Regions from separate parts of the Homo sapiens genome. Here region 2 is linked to region 1. The links are contacts of gene promoters, found by promoter capture Hi-C in human tissues and cell types (Jung and others, 2019). All regions are on one chromosome and are shown on one strand. Each heading gives the region's core, a stretch centred on a gene start or on the middle of the fragment in contact. The rest is flanking DNA. Distances are from core to core; before and after follow the strand shown. Region 1 holds the start of EPOR (erythropoietin receptor). Region 2 holds the start of ZNF709 (zinc finger protein 709).

Evidence for each region. Contacts are between HindIII fragments. The study calls those that stand out against the background at their distance.
Region 2: the fragment with the promoter of ZNF709 here is called in contact with the fragment with the promoter of EPOR in region 1 in 1 of the 25 tissues and cell types used here (stomach).

Annotation. Positions count from the first base shown.
Region 1 is chr19:11,382,734-11,386,169 of GRCh38, reverse strand. EPOR (erythropoietin receptor) reads left to right here and starts at 1,856. Exons shown (of 8, transcript NM_000121.4): 1 at 1,856-2,077; 2 at 2,938-3,073. The coding sequence starts at 1,963. RefSeq lists a silencer at 2,557-2,616. The HindIII fragment of the contact is 19,405 bases long and covers 1-3,436 here.
Region 2 is chr19:12,482,976-12,486,411 of GRCh38, reverse strand. It overlaps ZNF709 (zinc finger protein 709), which reads left to right and starts at 1,596. Exons shown (of 4, transcript NM_152601.4): 1 at 1,596-1,757. The coding sequence starts at 1,755. The HindIII fragment of the contact is 14,294 bases long and covers 1-3,436 here.

The DNA of each region.
Region 1 (3,436 bases), core at 607-3,106:
CACTGTGTTAGCCAGGATGGTCTCGATCTCCTGACCTTGTGATCCACCCACCTCGGCCTCCCAAAGTGCTGGGATTACAGGCATGAGCCACTGTGCATGGACTATTTATTTATTTTTTTGAAACAGAGTTTCAATCTTGTTGCACAGCCTGGAGTGCAATGGTGTGATCTCAGCTCACTGCAACCTCTGCCTTCTGGTTTCAAGCAATTCTCCTGCCTCAGCCTCCTGAGTAGCTGGGATTACAGGCACCCACCACCACGCTCGAATATATATATATATTTTTTGAGACGGAGTCCCGCTCTGTCACCAGGCTGGAGTGCAGTGGCACAATATCGGCTCACTGAAACCTCCGGCTCCTGGGTTCAAGCGATTCTCCTGCAGCCTCCCAAGTAGCTGGGATTACAGGCATGCAGCACCACGCCCATCTAATTTTTGTATTTTTGGTAGAGATGGGGTTTTACCATGTTGGCCAGGATGGTCTTGATCTCTTGACCTCGTGATCTGCCCACCTCGGCCTCCCAAAGTGCTGGGATTACAGGCGTGAGCCACCGCGCCCGGCCTACGCCTGGCTAATTTTTGTATTTTTAGTAGAGACGTGGTTTCGCCATGTTGCCCAGGCTGGTCTCGAACTCCTGACCTCATGATCCGCCTGTCTCGGCCTCCCAAAGTGTTGGGATTACAGGTATGAGCCACCGCGCCCAGCCAATTATTATTATTTTTTGAGATGCAGTCTCACTCTGTTGCCCAGGCTGGAGTTGCAGTGGCATGATCTTGGCTCACTGCAATCTTCATCTCCCAGACTGAAGCAGTTCTCATGCCTCAGCCTCCTGAGTAGCTGGGATTACAGGCACACGCCACCACACCTGGCTAATTTTTGTATTTTTAGTAGAGATGGGATTTCACCATGTTGGCCAGGCTGGTCTCAAACTCCTGACCTCAAGTGATTTGCCCACGTCGGCCTCCCAAAGTGCTGGGATTATAGGCGTGAGCCACCGGGCCCAGCCCAAGAGAATAAAAATGTGGGTGGTAAAAATTTTTTTCCCAAAAATTCGTAAATGAAAATCTCACATATTATGCATACTGCCCAGGAGCATGGCCTAGCACTGTGCAAACACTCAACTGCTGGTCGTTGCAAGGATTATTATTGGCCGGCTTCAGTGGCTCGTGCTGGTATTCCCAGCACATTGGGAGATGGAGGCTGGAGGATTGCTTAAGTCCGGGATTTCAAGACCAGCCTGGACAACATAGTGGGATCCCATCTCTACAAAGAATTTTAAAAATTAGCCAGGTGCAGTGGGAAGATTGCTTCAGTCCAGAGGCTGCAGTGAGCTATGATTGTGCCACTGCACTCCAGCCTGGGTGACAGAGCAACACCCTGAGACAGAGAGAGAGAGGGGGAAGGAGGGAAGGAGGGAAGGAAGGAAGGAAGGAAGGAAGGAAGGAAGGAAGGAAGGAAGGAAGGAAAGGAGAGAGAGAGAGAGAGAGAGAGAGAGAGAGAGAGAAAATAATTTTTATTTATTTCCAGGCTGGGAAGAGATGCTGATTTCTGCGATAAAATCAGTAGGTACATTTTTTGGAATGTTCGCTATGTGCCAGGCTAGATTTTACAGATGAGAAGTCTGAAGCTCAGGTAAGGTAAGTCACCTGTCCAGGGCCACAAAGAAAAAAAAAACGTGTGTCTGAAGCCAGAACGGGAGCTGTTGCGGCCCAACTCCCTCCCCTGCCCCCAAGCGGCCTCTGGGCTCGGGAAGGGCCCCTGCCTCCTCCCGCCAGGCACTTATCTCTACCCAGGCTGAGTGCTGGCCCCGCCCCCTCGGGGATCTGCCACTTAGAGGCGCCTGGTCGGGAAGGGCCTGGTCAGCTGCGTCCGGCGGAGGCAGCTGCTGACCCAGCTGTGGACTGTGCCGGGGGCGGGGGACGGAGGGGCAGGAGCCCTGGGCTCCCCGTGGCGGGGGCTGTATCATGGACCACCTCGGGGCGTCCCTCTGGCCCCAGGTCGGCTCCCTTTGTCTCCTGCTCGCTGGGGCCGCCTGGGCGCCCCCGCCTAACCTCCCGGACCCCAAGTTCGAGAGCAAAGGTAAGGATGAGCTGCGTGTGGACCCCTACGCTGGAGCCTGCAGGACCATGCTGGGGCCTGAACTCCCAGCCTAGGTCCTGGGGGCCATGCCTGTTTCTGGACTTCCTGACCGGGTCCTGGGGGCCAAGCTGGCATCTGAACCCTTAGACTGGGTCCTGGATGGGTGGGGGGCGGGGTGGGGTATGTTAGGATCCAAGACTCCTGATCGCGTCCCGGGCAAGAGCTAGAGTGGGCTTAACATTCCCGTTTTACCTTTTCAGGGAGTCTGGGACATGCTAAATCCTAAGGGGGCTGACTTGGTGCTAAGGTCCCTGGGGGGTGGGGACCAAGCCGACCCTCCCTAGGGGAGGGAGGGTAAAGCCCGGGTCCGAGTTAGAGGGGCCAAGCCACAGGCTACTGTAAACACGGTTTGTGTGAGGGCGCCAGATCACTTGCCCGGCCCGGTGGAGGGAGGGAGGCGGGGGGCACGGTTGGCGCTATCGGTTGGCGGGGAGCCTGCCGGGGCCGATAGGGGGCCCGCCTCTCCGCACACACCCCCAGCCGCGCGCGTGTCCTAGGCTGGGGCGGGGCTGGCAGTCCCGAGCTCGAGGTCTTGAACGCCGCGCCCAGCTCAGCTGGCCGCTGGGTGGGCAGGTGTGCGCCAGTGGTGACGGCGGGGGACAGTAAGGCGAGAAACTTGCCCCTGGGAATTAGGGGGGCACCACCTCTGCGGACCCCTCCAAGGGACCCGCTTGGGAAGATGGCAGGGCGGGGCTTTTTTCTTATCGGGTCCGCCCAGGCTGCGGGAGGGAAGAGGAGGGGGCTGTCTCCCGAGGATAGAGCTCAGACCCCCATGCCCTTCCTTTGTCGCCCCTCCCCAGCGGCCTTGCTGGCGGCCCGGGGGCCCGAAGAGCTTCTGTGCTTCACCGAGCGGTTGGAGGACTTGGTGTGTTTCTGGGAGGAAGCGGCGAGCGCTGGGGTGGGCCCGGGCAACTACAGCTTCTCCTACCAGCTCGAGTGAGTCCGATCCGGCGGGTGCCTCCAAGGGCGGAGGGAGGGGGTGGGGCAGAGCTCCCTGGAGGTCGTAGCCTCGTATGTCCCCTGCTGTTTGAGGCCCGACGGCGCCTCCAGTCGTGGTCACTGGAGGGAAACCTGCGGGTCCAGGGCTGGCACGCCCTCTATGGGCCGGGGCGCGAACACTCCCGCGATCACCGCTGGAACGCGACCCCAAACATCAGGCTGGGATAACAACGCCTCCAAATCGAGGGTAAGGCGTTACTACGTCGGGGCTGGGACGCCTTCTCGAGGTAGTATCCAAAAGGAGGCCAGCAGTGGCTCATGCCTGTAATCCCAACTCTTTGGAAGGTCGAGGCGGAAGAA
Region 2 (3,436 bases), core at 347-2,846, 1.1 Mb before region 1:
GTCACCCAGGCTGGAATGCAGGATCACAGTTGACTGTAGCCTTGACCTCCTGGGTTCAAACAATCCTCGGGCCTCAGCCTCCCCAGTAGCTGGGACTACAGGTGTGCACCACCATGCCCTGCTAATTTTTAAAAAATTTTCTTAGAGATGGGGGAGGGGGGGGCCTCACTATGTTGCCCAGGCTGATCTCAAACTCCTGGGCTCAAGCAGCCCTCCCACCTAAGTTTCCTAAAGTGCTGGAACTACAGGTGTGAGCCATCATGCCCTGCCCATTAGTAGGTTTGATCCAATATCTTAAGTATATTGAGTTTCCTAGTACATGCCAAATTTACATAATCTTTTGTGGTTTTTTAAATAATCTCAGTGAAAATGGAATTAATTGCCTTATCGATATCATAGCCATTTACATTTCAAAATTCTCTAGGGGCTGGGTGCAGTGGCTCATGCCTGTAATCCTAACACTTTGGGAGGCTGAGGCCAGCAGATCACTTGAGCCCAGGAGTTCAAGATCAGCCTGGGTGAGATAGTGAGATGCTGTTTCTACAAAATAAAAATAAAAAGAAAGAAAGAAATTAGTCAAGCATGGTGGCACGTGCCTGAGGTTCCAGCTACTCAGGTGGCTGAGGTGGGAGGATTGCTTGAGCCCAGAAGGTCGAGGCTGCAGGGGGCTCTGATTGCACCACTGCATTCCAGCCTGAGGGACAAAGAAGGGCCCTGTCTCAAAAACAAAAACCACAAACCAAACAAACATAAAGGATCCACAAAAGTTCTCTAGGGACATAGTCAAAAACTGGTCCGAAATAAATATCCTTCCAGTGTTCAGTTTTACTGAACACATCTCATGGCTTTGGGTTTAACTGAATAATTCCTCACTGGGCACGGTGGTTCATGCCTGTAATCCCAACACTTTGGGAAGCCAAGGAGCATCACCTGAGCCCAGGAGTTCGAGACTAGCCTGTGCAACATAGTGAGACCACCCCACCACCGCCATCTCTACCGAAAAAAAAAAAAAAAGGAACTCCTTCTCTCAGACTAGGGCTGTGGGGTCCAAACTTCCCACTAGAGCAAAGTGTGGGGGGAGGGAAGGGATGGGTGACGGCCTAAACCCTGTCAGTTGTCAAAGATTAAAACGTAGTCACTCTTTGTTAGGTATGATGAGGTCACTCTGTCACTCTAAGTGTCTGTATTTGTAAACAAGAGTCAGAAATCCATGAATGGCCTCGCAGCCTTATGCTAAGTCTGGGAGCGTCTGACCCTTCCGTTCTAGTCTGGCATGGCCCGGGCGTCCTTTTTCGCTGTGGACAAAGAGCCTTTTTCTGGAAACTGAGCCTGGAATTTCCTGCGCTGTGCACGCTTGTGTCTCCGCGCTCAGAAGGAGCTGCAGGAAGACACCAGTGCCCGACCCCGGGTACGTTAACAAATTCTGCTTAGACGCAAATATCCGTGGCAGGGGAACAGATTCCTGACCCCGGACGAATGCAGGTTGCTTAGAGACGCGACTTCCCTACTAGCTGTCACTCAGGCAACGAAGGCGGGTCCAAGAGTGCAATGTCCAATCAGGGGCGCCGCCGGGAAGGCGGGCGGAGGGGCGCTGCGCAAACGGCGAGGGCGTGGCTACCAGCCGCTGCGCTCCGCTCTGGGGTCTCCTCACCCCAGAAGGCCCTCAGGTGGAGGAAGGGCCTCAGGTGGAGGTAGGACCTGTGCTGGCCGCGGGAGAGGTAAACAGAACACCAGGACATCCCAGAGTCTGGGAAATGGTAAGTGTGCGGGGCTGGGGGTCTTGAGATGGGAGAGAGGGGCGGGTTGAAACCGGCCGGATCTGGCTGTGGTGGGACCCAGGCCTCCCCGCCGTTGTCTCCCGGGTCTGTGGACCCGAGTCCTCCTGGCGCAGCTCGGCCCTCGGTCTCTTTGGCCGCAGGATGGGGCTGGGCCGGCAGCCGGGACCCCGGACGTCTTGTCAAGTCCCTGCGCGGCGACTGCGGCCCCAGTCCCGGAGCCCTCTCTGGGCAGCTCCGAGCCCGCAGCCTCGCGTCTCCCCAGATTGTGCTGGGGCACGGGAGGGTCATGGAGGGAATCCCGTCTCGGTCGTGGGGTTCGTGCGTGGGAGGAGCAGTGTTGTGTGGGGTCCTCAGTCCCTCTTTTCTTCCCAAGGGAGGACTCGTTTCTCAAGGTTTCCAAGTGTATGGGAAGCCAGATCTCAAACCCACGACCGTGTCCTCCAGCCTGGCTCTTCCCAGAGCTGGGATTAAATCCCTAAATTTCTAGATCTCTTTCAAATGCCAATGTCTTCTCTCCAGTTCACAACGTCGTTATTTCAACCAGACGCAGTATTTTAATTATCCTTTTTGTACAGAGGAATGGATGGTTCTTTTAAAAAGATTTAACGTATGCTTTGGGGTATTTATATGAGAGGAAAACAGAGGAGAAGGACTTGAAGCTACCTCGTGTAAAATGCTTGTGCCTCTCTTGCCAGTATCTCTCCTGGGACCTGACATCCTATGGGAACTCCTTTGGGTTGAGTCTCCTTTTTGGAAACTTTTCTGGGAGATCTGTCCTTTCCAGCGCAGCACTTCCCCTCCCTGGGCTTATCACCTTGAAAAGATTTACTCACTTAATTGATTCTCAAAAAATGTAAAATATACGTAATTAGGAGACCTACAGCCCAGCCAACATGGCGAAACCCCGTCTCTACTAAAAATATAAAAAATTAGCCGGGCGTGGTGGTGCACATCTGTAATCACGGCTACTCAGGAGGCTGAGGCAGGAGAATCACTTGAACCCGGGAGGCAGAGGTTGCAGTTGAGATGAGATTGCGCCACTGCACTACAGCCTCGGCGACAGAGTGAGACTCTGTCTCAAAAAAATAAAAAAATAAAATAAAATAAACCTTTAGAGTGGATGTAAAATATTTCCAAAGAGGCAAGAAAGAGATGGGTTTCAGAAAATAATAAAATATCAAGCTAGGAGCGTTGGCTCACGCCTGTAATCTCAGCACTTTGGGAGGCTGAGTCAGGAGGATCGCTTGAGCTCAGGAGTTCAAGACCAGCCTAGGTGACATAGAGAGACCTCATCTCTACTAGAAAAAAAAAAAAAAAAAAAAAAAATTAGCTGGGCGTAATGGCCTGCACTTGTAGTCCCAGCTACTTGGGAGGCCGAGGCGGGAGGATTGCTTGAGCCTGGGAAGTTGAGGCTGCTTTGAGCCTTGATCATGCCACTGCACTCCAGGCTGAGCAAGGTCTCACACCTTGTCTCAAAAACAGAAAATAATAATAATGAAATATCCCAGTATGATATTGCATTTATTAAAAATTTTTGTTTCTCTTTTTTTCTTCTGAGAATGTATAGCAAGTTCCTCAGGTCTGTTCTTTCCTTTTCGGTGATTTCAAATGGAATTCCATTCTGGGCTCAGGTTATCCACCTGCCTCAGCCTCCCCTT